Regions from separate parts of the Homo sapiens genome. Here region 1 is linked to region 2. Evidence: promoter capture Hi-C in human tissues and cell types (Jung and others, 2019). All regions are on one chromosome and are shown on one strand. The core of a region is centred on a gene start or on the middle of the fragment in contact, and the rest is flanking DNA. Distances in the headings are between cores, read along the strand shown.

Region 1 (6,528 bases), core at 1,074-3,573, 260 kb after region 2:
GAGAGGCAACTCGTGCTGGGTGGCAAGGTCAGCAGGGCATCGGCAGACACAGGGTCAGGCTGGCTGAGACCGTCAGGCAACGTCTGCTCCCATGAGTCCCTCTGAGGAGAATGGAAAGGCCACGGAGGTTATTCACTAGGTGACACTCTGATGATACATTGTGTGCTGCCAGACTGTGGCTTCAGGGCAGCCTTCGTCCCCTCTCTCTGCTGCCTGAAGCCTGGCTCTCAGGCTGCTCTTCTCTCCGGCTTTTGACACCAGCAGTGAAAGTTTTCCTCCCTTCCTACTCTAGAATTAGATTTGCTATAGATATTGAGATTCCTTTTCCCAGAAGACAACATTAAATGAGTGAAATGTGAGACTAATAAAATGCACATGTATGCAACATTTTACTGTGTGCAATGCACTCTGTCTTGGATTCTTTTTGAGTCTCCCATTAGTCTGGGTCCTAGAATGCCATTTACACAGTGGGGAAGGTCAGCGCTTGGCCCACTCCTCGGAGTAGGCCTTCAACTCCATGGTGAATTTTTGAGGGGACTGAGAAGCCCACTCTGTCCTCATTAAAGCAGGAGGAAAGAGGTAGGAATCCCGTAAGTTTGGAGCTAGAAAGATTTGGATTCATTCGTGGCTCCTCCTGACTCTGAGCCCGACATTGCTCATCTGTAAAATGGGACTTTCATAAATATATCCTGAGTTGTTGCAAGTATTGAATGAACACATCACATTTCCTGGCATAGAGTATACTTAATAATGTGAATTCTCATCCTCTCCCTTTTGTCTAAACTCCTGTCTTTAGAGCTTCATTACTTTGTGGTAGAAACCTTTACTATTCTCTATGAGCATTAGCAATCTTCAGATCTTTATGAACTCACCTGTTTGGAAGGATTGAGAGAGAACAAGGATTTTTAGGCTAAAAATGTGGGGAAGGGGAGGCAGGGGACTTGGAAAGAAAGAGGAGCCCTATGTACCCTCCTTGGGAGATTATGATCCATCTCATTACTGCCTAGCATGTCTGAGATGCAGCTTCAGTGTTCCTTCCTTAGGGGCTGCAGGAATGATGACGACTGGCACTAACAGGGTGGGGGAACATCAGGCAATATCAGTAGAGCATTAACAAAATGGATATAAATCCTGCTGCACATTCCTCCCGGTTCCAAGCCCTGCGTAGACGCTCCTGGCTGTCATGGCTAACAGGGATCCTTGAACAAGGCTCCCTCGGAGGGTGTCCTGGCATCTCTAGGCAGCTGCAAAGCAGCCTCTGGAGTCTACAGGGTGAGCCAGACCTGGCTTCAACCCGGATGCCAAGCACAGCGGCTGGCCAGAGGGCGAGCCTCGCCCCTCTTTTACTCCCTCACACGAGGTCTCTGCATACTCACAAATAGGAAGTGAGCTGGGTCTCCGGGGAAGGGCGGTGGCAGGAGCGGCGGTAGGGGCGAGGCGCTGAACAGAGAGCCCGCGTTGGGCGTCAGCGCCGGAGGCCGGTAGTCTCCGTAGGGCTCCTGGGGGAAGTAGGGCTCCAGGAGAGCCGCATGGCTCTGCCCTGCGGAGGACTCACAGGGAAACGGCTTCCCCACGCTGGAGGTGTAGACGTCATTTGAAAACTGTTTACTGTTGTGGAAGTCTGAGTCAGATAAGAAAGATCTTCTGACACCGTAGTAACCTGACGTGACCGGCGAACCTGTTGCCAAATGAAAAACACATGGGCAGAAAATTCCTCCCAGGGCGGTCAAGGCCTCGGTTGCAGCTGAGTCTCTGCCTGGGAAACGATGTTACTAACGCGTGCCTGACTCCAACGCTAACATGGAAATAGAGAAATGTCTTGAAAAGCGTGAAATATTCCTGCATTAGCCCAAATAACTAACGTTTGAAAACATTGTCGCCTTTAGGGGTGAGTTCATTTTAGACAGTACCGTGTCTGTTCATTCATTCACATTTACTGAGTACCTTCCCGGTGACCGGCGCTGTGCTAGGAAGACATAAATGAAATAATCTCTTGGCATTCATATTTTAACCAAGGAAGCATCTTTTTCACAACATCGGAGCTACCTCTCCATATACATAGAACTGTTAACAAGAGGTGCTCCTGGCCTGTTATCTGAGATCGCTATGTCTGGATAAGGTAACACATATAACCCCACCTCAAAGAGGCAGGCTGTACTCTGCCTTCTAATTCTTCACACATTGACCTTACACTGGGTCGCACGCCTGGCAGACATCAATAAATGACTTTCTTTAGGATTAGATGGCCACACAGAAGCCAATTTTAGAGGCCTGTAGTTTTAGGGTTTTGATGAGTTTTATGTTATTTGCTGCCCTCTTGTGGCCTCATGGACTCCTTCACTCAACTCACCAGGGCCCAGCACGTTTAGGAAGACAGTGCCGGCTACATAAAGTTTCCCTTGGTGGTGCAGGCTCGGTGGCTCACACCTGTAATCCCAGCACTTTGGGAGGCCCAGGCTGGCGGATCACGAGGTCAAGAGATTGAGACCATCCTGGCCAACATGGTGAAAACCCATCTCTACTAAAAACAATACAAAAATCAGCTGGGCCACCATGCCTGTAATCACAGCTGCTGTAGTCCCAGTTACTCAGGAGGCTGAGGCAGGAGAATTACTTGAACCCGGGAGGTGGAGGTTGCAGTGAGCTGAGATCTCGCCCAGAGCAAGAGTCCGTCTCAAAAAAAAAAAAAAAAAAAGTAAAAAGTTTTCCTTGGTGGAGAGAGGGAGGGACAGAAACTGATAAGAGCTTCATTTAAGGTAAGCCCAGCAGTGAAATGGTTTCCAAGGAAAAAGGTGTGTTTGCTCAACACTTTCTGACCCCGTAGCTCAGTTGTAGCAGAAAACACTGATCATTCAGAACATGTTTGAGGGCATAGACTTGAGGTCTATAAAACTGATGGTTTAATTGTTCCAGCTGGCCTTGGGTGTGATCTAATGCTAACACCAACACCCTTAGGTCATAGGTCACAAAAAGGCTGAACTGGGGAGAAGATATAAGTGCCTGTCTTCCTTACCTTACCCCAACCACAGCAGCAGACCACTTCTGAGCTTCTGATTCTATAGACACAGAATTCCAGCCCGTTCCACAGGATGTGGCACTTTATATTATGCTCATTCCTCTTTCACCTGAGTCACAATGATCTTTCCAGTCAACCTGCGAGCCCAAGGGGGCAGATCTCATGCCTTATACATTTTCTTTAAACCTAGTAGTATAACATTGTGTTCAAGAATGGCATGTGAATTTATTCATCCAGAAGAAGAAATCAAAATTCCCCATCAAAACCTGTGGCACGACTCCACTCACTTCACTTTCATCTTACATTCTATAACTTCTAACCTGCTCATGCATTTGAAAGCTGAAGTTAGGGTTTTCATTATAAGCATACTTCCTTGGGAAAAAATCTGTGCAGCTGAACCTTAATATAAATAAATAAGGTTCTGTTTCATACAATGAAATTATATTTATGAGAGCGGTTAAGGTTGAGAATATGAAAACAAGGTTTCCAGGCTCTCATCTATACTCCCAATTTCCAAATCAAAACAACCACGAAGAAAAAAGCCTCTGCTCTCTTAGCATGGATTTTCTCTGTACAAAGAGAAAGGATAATTTCTAGATAAAGAGAAGCTATGGAAATTTTTCTTTTTTTTTTCTGTAGAAGGCAGGAGATGCCACCAAATTTCAATGGCACTATATATGATTGGGAAACAACATACAGACATTTAAATATTCGGGATCCTCGATTGCTCTTATTCCTTTCCCTTATCCAGCTCTGAAGGTGATAAAACTATTAGGGAATGTGCCGCGTCTGAGTTGAACTAAATGAGATTGTCTTTGCCTGTGTGGTGTGTGTTTATACAAGAATGTCCAACAGTATTATTAGGAATTCCCCTTTTACATCCCCACAGGAGTATTTAATGAGACATAGGCATTGAAATGAATTCAAAATACTGAACCAAATGCCTGACTCCCTCTGCTCGCAGACGGCTTTCCCCTTTCTGTTTGAAAGCAGATGCCTCATCTATCAGATCATGGTGTCAGAACTTTAGACAATTTAAAACTGTATCAAGGGCATAATTTATATTGCCTTTGCCCCAAAAGCTTGGGATAAAAGGGCTGCTTTCAAGACAAAATGAATTTTAAATTCAGAAATTACTGCATGAGTTCTGTCCTTCGCTGATTTTGTATTTTAGACAAAACTATTTTAAAGGAGCAGAGTTTTGGAAGTGTTGTAAGGTCGTTATGAAAGAATGGAAGCCCAGATGCTTGATTTAAATTCAAAAGGGAATAATTGCTTATTGAATTAAAGTACTCACCTGGCATCTGCACAAATGGAGACTGAGAGGAACTGACGCTGCCCTGGAAGGTAAACAGAATTCAAGTGTTTTCTTTAGTTGTAAGTTTGAATTTAATAAAAATTAGGAATACACCTTATAAGCTTGGTTTTATGATATTCAGAAGTATTATCTGGGGAGTTGGGTTGACCCTCAGGTCAACTGAGAATAAGAATTCAAGTACCATAGAACAAAGTTTTACAAGGGACAAAGAGCAACCACACTTTTACATTTTGATAAACATGCCAGAAAGCACTGGCTGGATGAAATGTAGTAATTTATCCTTCATCTTCTACTGTTCCAGTTAACATTCCCTCATCCAATATATATTAAGTGACTATATATACGCATATCCAGTAGCCTCCCCTTACCCACGAGGGATATGTTCCAAGACTCCCCAGTGGGTTCCTAAAACTGAGGATAGCACCACACCTGATTGCCATCATGTCCTCCACCCACAAACTCAATGCCTTTTCCATCTTAGCTAAGAATTTATCATGCATTGTGGCCACAGTTTTGCAGTTCGAGGTGCAACAGCAAAACTCGCATGAATTTCTTTCGCCTTCTTCACAATTTCACAGACAAAAGATTTGTTCTTACCATACCAATGTCTGACCTCAGCATACATTTTTTTTCTTTCCTTATTAAGTTGAGAACGTTTACTTTTTCATTTAAAGGAAGCACATTCCGGCTTCTCTTTGGCATATCTAAATTGCCAGTGTCACTACTCTTGTGCTTTCGGGCCATTGTGAAATACAATAAGGGTGACTTGAACACAAGCACTGCCATACAGAGACAGGTGATCCAATCACTGAGTCGGCTACTGAGACACTAACGGGCAGGTGGTGTAGACAGTGTGGATTGGCTGGACAAAGGTAAGATTCAAGTCCTGGGCAGCACAGAGTGGGACTGAATGAAATTTCATCACACCACTGAGAAAGGCATGCCATTTAAGATCTAGAAATTGTTTATTTCTGGAATTTCGCATTTAGTATGTTCAGACTGCAGTTAACCATGAGTAGCTGAAACCTCAGAAAGGGAAACCATGGCTAAGGGGCGCCTACTGTATGTGTGTATGTGCATACATGCACTTAGTGTTTGGCTTCAGCACTGAAGGGCCACTTCAATGTTTACTGTCTGAATCCATGTGGAGGAAGAAGCTCCACCAACTGTAGGGACCTTGACTGTGATGTGCCCTCAGTGCCTAGAACAGGGTGTAGTTCATAATAGACGTAAGAAAAATATGTGGAATGAAGACACAATCTTCAAAGAACCCACAGGCTAGAGAGCAGGGAGAGGTTGGGGAATGTGGTGGGTTGCATTATGTGCCCCCTCCAAAAGATATATATATATATATATATATATTTTTTTTTTTTTTTTTTGAGATGGAGTCTCACTCTCTCACCCAGGCTATAGTGCAATGGCACGATCTCGGCTCACTGCAACTTCCACCTCCCGGATTCAAGTGATTCTCCTGCCTCAGTCTCCTGAGTAGCTGGGATTACAGGCACGCACCACCACACCTGGCTACTTTTTGCATTTTTAGTAGAGATGGGTTTCACTGTGTTGGCCAGGCTGGTCTCGAACTCCTGACCTCAGGTGATCTACCTGTTTCGGCCTCCCAAATTGCTGGAATTTCAGGCATAAGCCACCCAAAGTTATATTGATACCTTAATCCCTGATACCTGTGAATGTGACGGTATTTGCTAATAGGGCTGTTAAAGATGTAACTACTTAAATTAAGATGAGGTCATATTAAATTAGGGTGGGTCCTAAATCTCATGTGACTGATGTCCTAATAGGAAGAGGAGAGGGACGCACAAAGACACAGATGCAGATGGGACAAGGTCATGTGAAGACAAAGGCAGCAGTTTGAGTGATACAACCTCAAGCCAAGGAACATCGAGGATCACCAGTGACAACTGCCAGCTAGGAAGAGGCAAGGAAGGATTCTCCCCAGAGGCTCCAGAGGGAGCATGGCCCTGCTGACACCTTGATTTTGGACTTCTAGCCTCTAGAGCTATCTATGAGATGATACATTTCTGTTGCTGTAAGTCATCCCATTTGTGGTAACTTGTTACTGCAGCCCTAAGACACCAATACAGGGGTGATTGATGACAAAACAGAATATTCGGTGTAGTATGAGAAGTGGCAGGGTCAGGGAAAGATGGGGTGATGCGGGCACCTAAACTGGTGT
Region 2 (6,894 bases), core at 1,445-3,944:
ATCAGATCCACGGGGTTTTCTGCTACTGACAGTCAGCCCTCTGACCTAAAGACAACAGTTAAGGTTTACTGAACTCCTACTATGTGCCATAAACTATGGTAAGGGCTTAACATTTACTTACATACTTTATCTCATGTAACCCTCATAATAGTCCCCTGATGCAGATACTGTTTATGGCTTATTTTACAAATGAGAAAACTGGAGCTCAGGGAAGTTAAGTAATTTGGCCAAGATCACACAGTGATCATCAGCATCACCGGAGTTAGAGCCCAGATCTAATTACAAAATCATGCTGGTACCAGTGAACTAAATTGCTAGCTCCCCGCTGCACCCCAGGCTCATGTTTTACTGGGAGCCTATGTAATGTGTCTTATCAGTCTGTCCCCTGAAGGGCTGAAGATCATCTCAGACAAACAGATGGGATTTTACTGAGGAGCCAATAACAAATCGCTCACAGTACACACTGCTCTAGCTTGCGTCTGTGTGACTGAAGCCTTGCTGCAATGGAGACACTAGCCTCATCACTCCTTTCATTCAATCAACATTTATTGAGTGTACACTTTGTGCCTGGCACTGTGCGAGGTGCTGGGAATACAGGAACAAAAGCTACTTCCTAACCCACAGGAGCACACAGCATATGTTTCCGGATTCAAATGTTCAAAGTGAAAACCACGTATCAACACGGGGAGTAGTCCCCCTGCAAAGAGAAAGCCAAATTGTGGGCTGTGGGTGCGAACTGCTGCCACAGTGCCGGGGGTAAAATATTTTGGTTTGGGAACCTCCTCCCAGAACTTCTGGAATGTTCTTGTTTTCCCAACTTGTTTTACAGCTGCGCAGGGAGCCAGATAGCATTCATTAATTCCCAACACTGGCCAGCATATAGGGCAAGGGGCCACAGACAGATAGAACTATATGATTAGTGCTAAATGAGAAAGAGCACATACAGATTATCCAGAAAGCTCCAGTGAGTCTTCATTTTCTATTTCTTCTCTCATCACTTTCATAAAGGAATTCTCAATGAGCAACAAGTTATAAGAGTTCCACATCTTCTCCCTTTTCCTGTCATTATTTGGCTATTGCTGATAATAGAGAAACTCTAATTAGACTGGTCCAGCAGCACATTAGGAGGGTTCAAAAGCCAGACCTGCTTGCAAGAAGGTATTCAGAGAGGCTGAGGCAGGGATACCCCCGGGAAGGGGGCTGGGCCAGCCACGCTTTTGCGATTCCTCAAAGCTGGCTCCAAATTGGGCAGCAGAGGAGGGGCAAATGAGCCCCCAGGAACTTATCCAACCTGGCCACCGGCATAACATAAGCTGGAGTTGAATTTCCTGACAACCCCCACTTTCCATGTTGGATTGTCAAGGGAAACATAACACCTTAAGCGAGTTTCCTGTATGGTCCAGCCTGGCCACACATCCGAAGTCTGCGGGTGAGTGCCAGAGACCGTCAGAGCTGGAAGGAGGCCCGCGGGCCTATCTGGTTCTCCTGCCTTCAGGAAGTGTCCTTCTCTTCTCATTTGCAGGAAGGCGAAGGGTGGGAGGGCCTTCTGTTCCCCGCGACCAAGGACAGAGCCCACGCAGCCCTAACCCAAGCAGCTCAATTCAGCTTCCCACCTCTTTTGCCGCCCCGCCCCCATCCTGAAACCAACTTTACATTCTTTAAATTAGTTTCGCAAGCCAGGATGCCAGAGTAGAGGAGGTTCCCAGTCTCCTCTGTCCCGTTTGGTCAAGCTGTTGGCACCCGCAAAAAGGATCTGAGAAAAGGGCACGGATGTTCTCCCCCCGACATGCAGAACAACTGAAAGAAGCCAGAAGCCAGAGCACTTTACCTCCTCTGAGGTCCAAATCCGAGGCTGCAGTGACACAACAGGAGGAAGGAAGCAGAGAGTCATTCCCCGGAGTCAGGTGGGGCTCGTCCCACACTAACTGGAGTTCTTTCCCGATCTCTAAGCGCTCTCATACCGGGCGCTCGACCCAGCCATCCAACCCCGCAGAAGAGACGAGGAGTAACAGGCAGGGTTCCCACGGCACCGGGGATCCAGCATCCCTACCCCGCTGTCTCTGCGGCCGCCTCCCGGAGCGGGCGGTAGGCGGGGGCCAGCTGGCAAGCCTGCCCCGCGGGGGTGGTCCCAAGGACTGATTCGATGCGTGTAAAGGAGCGGGCCGAAGGGGCACCCACTGGGGCAGGTTTGCCCACTGCCCCACCTCTCCTACATTCTCCAACCCACCCCCATAACTCTGGACTGGGAACGGGCTTCGAGCGTTCCAGGACGCGCAGGGAACTGCGCAGCTCCGGGAACTGGCGTGGGTCTCAGACGCCGTGCGACTGCCCCCAGAACGCAAGAGACTCCGAAGGGCTGCGTCTGGGAGTGGGGCATGGGACGGCCTTCTAGTCCCATACGTGGCGACCCAGAAGAGGGTCAGCAGCAGCTGGGGTGCAGTGAGCCCACCCCGGCACCAGCCCCCGCCCCAGCGCGCGCACTCACCACTCAGCAGGCGACCCGTCGCGGCCCGCAGCCCCACCAGCAGCACGGCCAGCAGCACGGCCTGTAGCGCGGTTCCCGGCCTCATGGCCCGACTCGGGTGCGCCCCCCGACACTCGGGCGCTACGGCGGTGGAGCGGGCTGGCGGGCAGAGGCGTGCGCGACAACTGCAACCGCGGCAGCAGCATCTCTAGGCCACCGACGGACCGCACGGGAGGCGGGGGGGAGGGCGCGGAGTCAGTCGGTCGCCCCTCCGCCCCCTGGGACGTCACTGCGAGGAGGGCAGCCCCGCTGGCTGGCCCGCCCCCGACAGCCTCCTCCAGCGAGGTTGGCGCCAGACACTCGGCCAGCCAGAGAGGGGCGAGTCGCAGAGGGGAACCAGCTCCCTGTCCCCCTCCGAGCTTCCCTGGGAGATCCCGCGTTTGCCCGAGGCGCTGGGCGGAGGAATACTTCAGTCGGGCCCCTAGGCAATCTGATAACGAGCACAGTGTGCCTAAAACTAGCACCACATCTCACCCCTCCTCTCCCGCTGACCTTAGCCAAGTTCGCCAGCTGTGCGGGTGCACCTGGAGAGAGAGGCGATGCGTGGACTCCTACCTGGGGCTCAGCAGGCCGCAGTCCCAGCACGAAGGGCGACGCCTGAGCAGGGAATGGTCGATGCAGAGAACAAACACTCACGCAGGCAGTGTGCCCACCGGCCAGGAAAGTTATGGGACACCGCGCGGATGGCATCCAAAGAACTTGGCTGAGTTGGAGCCCTCCCGACTGAAAGGAAAGCGGCTTCTACCAGAAGCCAAAAGATGTCCCAGATCCCTGGAAGGAAATGATTCTGTTTTTTGCAGGGAACAGGTTGGGAGGTGGGGGTCATAGTTAGGGAGTTCAGCTTTGGCCCCTCGCCCCGCAGGAAAGAATGAAACTATTATCTCAGGAAAAGCTTTCCTAACCTAGCCCTCAATGTGTGCTTCCTCTTGTAAACTCCCAAAGTAGGTGTGTTTCACTTTGGTTTCGTAAACAAAATGCTTTTAAATATAGTCAAGCAATAGAGTGAGCCATCTGTCCAAAGATTAAGGCACTAAGTAGCAGAAGGTGAATCTGACTTTCTGCCTTTTCTGCCACACCATGCTGCTGTGAAGCATAGCAGAAGCCCCATCTGGGCCACGACCTCTGGATTTTGGTTCCAGCTTGCTGCTTCTTACGTACTCTTTCTGCTTTTCAAAACAGCCAAGAAAGCAGTGATGCTTCTAAGGCCTCTAGCCACTGCAATTCTAAACAAACAGCCTGAATACAGGCTGGGGGTGAGAGGGGAGTGGGATGAATTTCAGTATCAGCTGAGACTATGGGGGAGCTCTGCTGCGGCACGTAACAGCTAACAGCGGTTGTGGCAGGATGAGGCCTGACCTTTATGGCAAGATCATTTATAGACCTTCCTTCTGTCCCAGTTAGAATACGTCAATGTCACATCTAACACACTTTCTTCTTAGAAATTCTTGGTTATCAAAACAACTTGAGAGAACTGTTATGGTGAAAAGAAGCACTGGAGTTGGCATTTGAGGGTCTGTTTCAGATTCTGCTCTTCATTTAATGTCTGTGTGGCCTTTGGCAATTCCGTTTGCCTAAGTTTCACTTAACTGTTGGTAACATTAACAGTTGCCTTAAGAGTTTAGTGAGTGTTTGATAAGGCAAATATATATGTAAATGTTCAGATATCTAGGCACTTAATGTCAATTGAAAAGGATTTATTTCTAATATTATAACATCTGCTACAACTTTAAAAAGCTGTTACATAATTAAATCGTGTCCCGACTTCTCGCTTTGATACCCTGGACCTTGGTTCAGATGGATTTTGTTAGGGTATACAGTCAACCAAACCTGGTAGATTACAATAACGGCCCCAATTCTCCACACCTCCCTGTACCCATATCCTTTACCATATGACTTTGTAGTTTCTCTTTCTAAAGAGGCAGAGTATATTTCCCCACACCTTGACTTTGTGTTTGACCATGTGATTGACTTGTTTGGCTAACAGAATGAGTCAGTTCTGAGCTTAGACCAGAAAGGCCTCATATTTCTTTTTCTTCTCTGCCACTCTCTGAGAGGAACATACCTTAGATATCCCACTGGTCTATGTGTATCCCTAAGAGGATGACAAATGGAGCAGAGCTACCTCAGGCAATTGACAAACTTGCAGTAAGAGACAGAGCTGCTCTAGGTGCTGTAGCTTGAAGCAGAGCTCTCTGGCTAAGCCTAGGTCAGCCAAACTAGATCACACAAAACTGCAGATGTGTGAGCAGTAATAAATGTTGTTTTAGACCCCTTTGTTATGCAGCATTGTTGCAGCAATAGCTAACCATTACACTTGGCAATGTAGGGAGGTATCACTAGGGGAAGGCTGGTTGCCAAGAAAGTCCACAAAGTAGAATTTTTCTTGGTAAAATTACCCTGGTCCAGGGTCCAATTCCTAGTTTAACATGCTCAAACCCAATCTAAGAGACTAATATATTTACACATTGAGAAATAGAATTGTCAGGTAAACTAATGCTTGCATTGGCCTGTTGAACACATATTCTCCCTCTGGGCAAAAAAGATTTATCAGCATGGAATCAGAATGAAAGGAATTAGTTATATGATTTAATAGTTTAGGCTTTGATAGCCTGCTGTGTCCATCTTCACAACGAAGACCTACCTGCCAGGCAGACAGATACATCAACCAGACAGGATACCTTTTATTCTTGCTGGTGCTAGGATGGGGCTGCCAATTTATAACTTTCAAAATTTTCCTTTCCTAGGCCTGACTACCTTCCTTTTGTTCCGAACATTTTTCTTCAAATAGCGTTGTGCCAGAACCTTGTCATTGTCCCCTAATATCCATTCTCCACTTCTTTTGGCTATAGAATCCCTGAATTTTAATTAGACAGAAGCCCCCTCCCCATTTTCTAAAGACAATTTCCAGCCTCCCTTGCAGCCTGATGTGTCCTTGTGATTACGCTCTGACCAGTGGGCCACCCAGTCTTCTGTTGGCACAGTGGATGGGGGCTGTGTCTTATGAAAGCTATGTCCAAGAGTTCCAAGTGGAGGCCAGTAGTGATGGAAATGGTGGTCCTAAATAGAGCTGCAACCTCTGGGTAACCCTCTTACCCTAAATACATGTTGCTTACCCAAGAGTCAGACTCCTGAGATTTCATCATTGGTAACTGATTTCCTTGGATTACCCATTGTTCCCTTTATTCAGCCTTCTTTTAAAATGCAAATATTCCTGGGTGGATAATAAACATATTGCTACTAAAGCTTTACTATAAACACACTTTCCAGTTCTTTCTTTCTGACAGAAGGGGGCCTGGATTATGCTAAGATCTCTCGAAGGAGGGATGGGGAAGAGCATCTAACCCTGAGTAGGACTGCCATTTGGACAGCGCAGAAGGGACAAATCCTTAATCTTTTCTTTTCCATTACATAGCAAAGGGAATGAAAGTGAGGGGGGTTGGCACTGGGTTTATGTATGTGTGTAAAACATAGGCACGTGGAGCCAGTTATTCACAGAGGTAGAAGCAACTCACTTCTGACTTCAGACATGTTTCAGAAATGGAACAAACCAAATTTTGCTAAGTGGTTTTCTTATTAAAGCAAGTAGACTTGAAGTTTTCAAAACTGCCCTTTCATTCCTATTTCCTGATTGTTTTTACTGGTGGTCTACAAGTTAAGACACATAAAGCCCCTGTTTCTTGCTTACCTGATATTCATAATATAGATCTAGCATAGAAATTCTGGAAATACCCTTCAAATGAAAACAAGATAAATAGGAGTTTGAGAATGTGGTAAGATGAAAGAGATGTATGTTGTGGTGTCAAACAGTAGTACCCAGTAAGTAAATAGACACAAATATTCAATAGCTGGTAGAATTCATAGAAGCCTGCATATTTAACCTTTATTTCTTTATTTTAACACAAGTACTCACTAACTGGTAAAATTCCTGGAAGTCTGCGTATTTAACTTGTATTTCTTTGTCTACTATAATGTTGCCAGTGATCTCAATGATCCTGATCTAAGAGAAGGTTGTTTCCAAAGTGAAGGTATAAGTGAGCCATCCTCTGCCATGTGTCAAGCAAATTAGTCCAAAGTTTTGACTTCTTCTTGGTCCTCTTTATCTGACTCTGATACCACTTTCCTGTTGGTAGTAATATCAGTCAGTTCCAATACACAGAACTCCGCCATTGTGAACATGATGTAGCATGAAAACAACTTTTGAAAATTCTCCCAATAAAAATTCACTGTTGTAGATTCTATGTGTTGGGTTTTGCAACCAAGTATAAACTTGTATGTGAGAGAAGTGGTTATGATATTGTGAAGTGTGGTTTGGAGGTACAGGAGCCCTCCTACCCCAAATATGTTTTGTTTATTCTAGAGTCAGACTCCTG

What was found. The method cuts DNA at HindIII sites, captures the fragments that hold promoters and counts their contacts. A contact is called where the count stands out against the background at its distance.
Region 1: a contact is called between a fragment that was not itself captured here and the fragment with the promoter of LAYN in region 2, in 1 of the 25 tissues and cell types used here (IMR-90 fibroblasts).

Annotation. Positions count from the first base shown.
Region 1 is chr11:111,279,226-111,285,753 of GRCh38, reverse strand. It overlaps POU2AF2 (POU class 2 homeobox associating factor 2), which reads right to left. Exons shown (of 5, transcript NM_198498.3): 3 at 4,314-4,356; 4 at 1,377-1,678; 5 at 1-101. Among named protein-coding and RNA genes, the nearest start is that of POU2AF3, 16 kb to the left of the region's middle. The HindIII fragment of the contact is 8,270 bases long and covers 1-6,458 here.
Region 2 is chr11:111,536,520-111,543,413 of GRCh38, reverse strand. LAYN (layilin) reads right to left here and starts at 2,694. Exons shown (of 7, transcript NM_178834.5): 1 at 2,486-2,694. The coding sequence starts at 2,570. It overlaps HOATZ (HOATZ cilia and flagella associated protein), which reads right to left. Exons shown (of 6, transcript NM_001100388.2): 6 at 6,371-6,644. The coding sequence ends at 6,587. RefSeq lists an enhancer at 2,912-3,591. The HindIII fragment of the contact is 9,472 bases long and covers 1-4,592 here.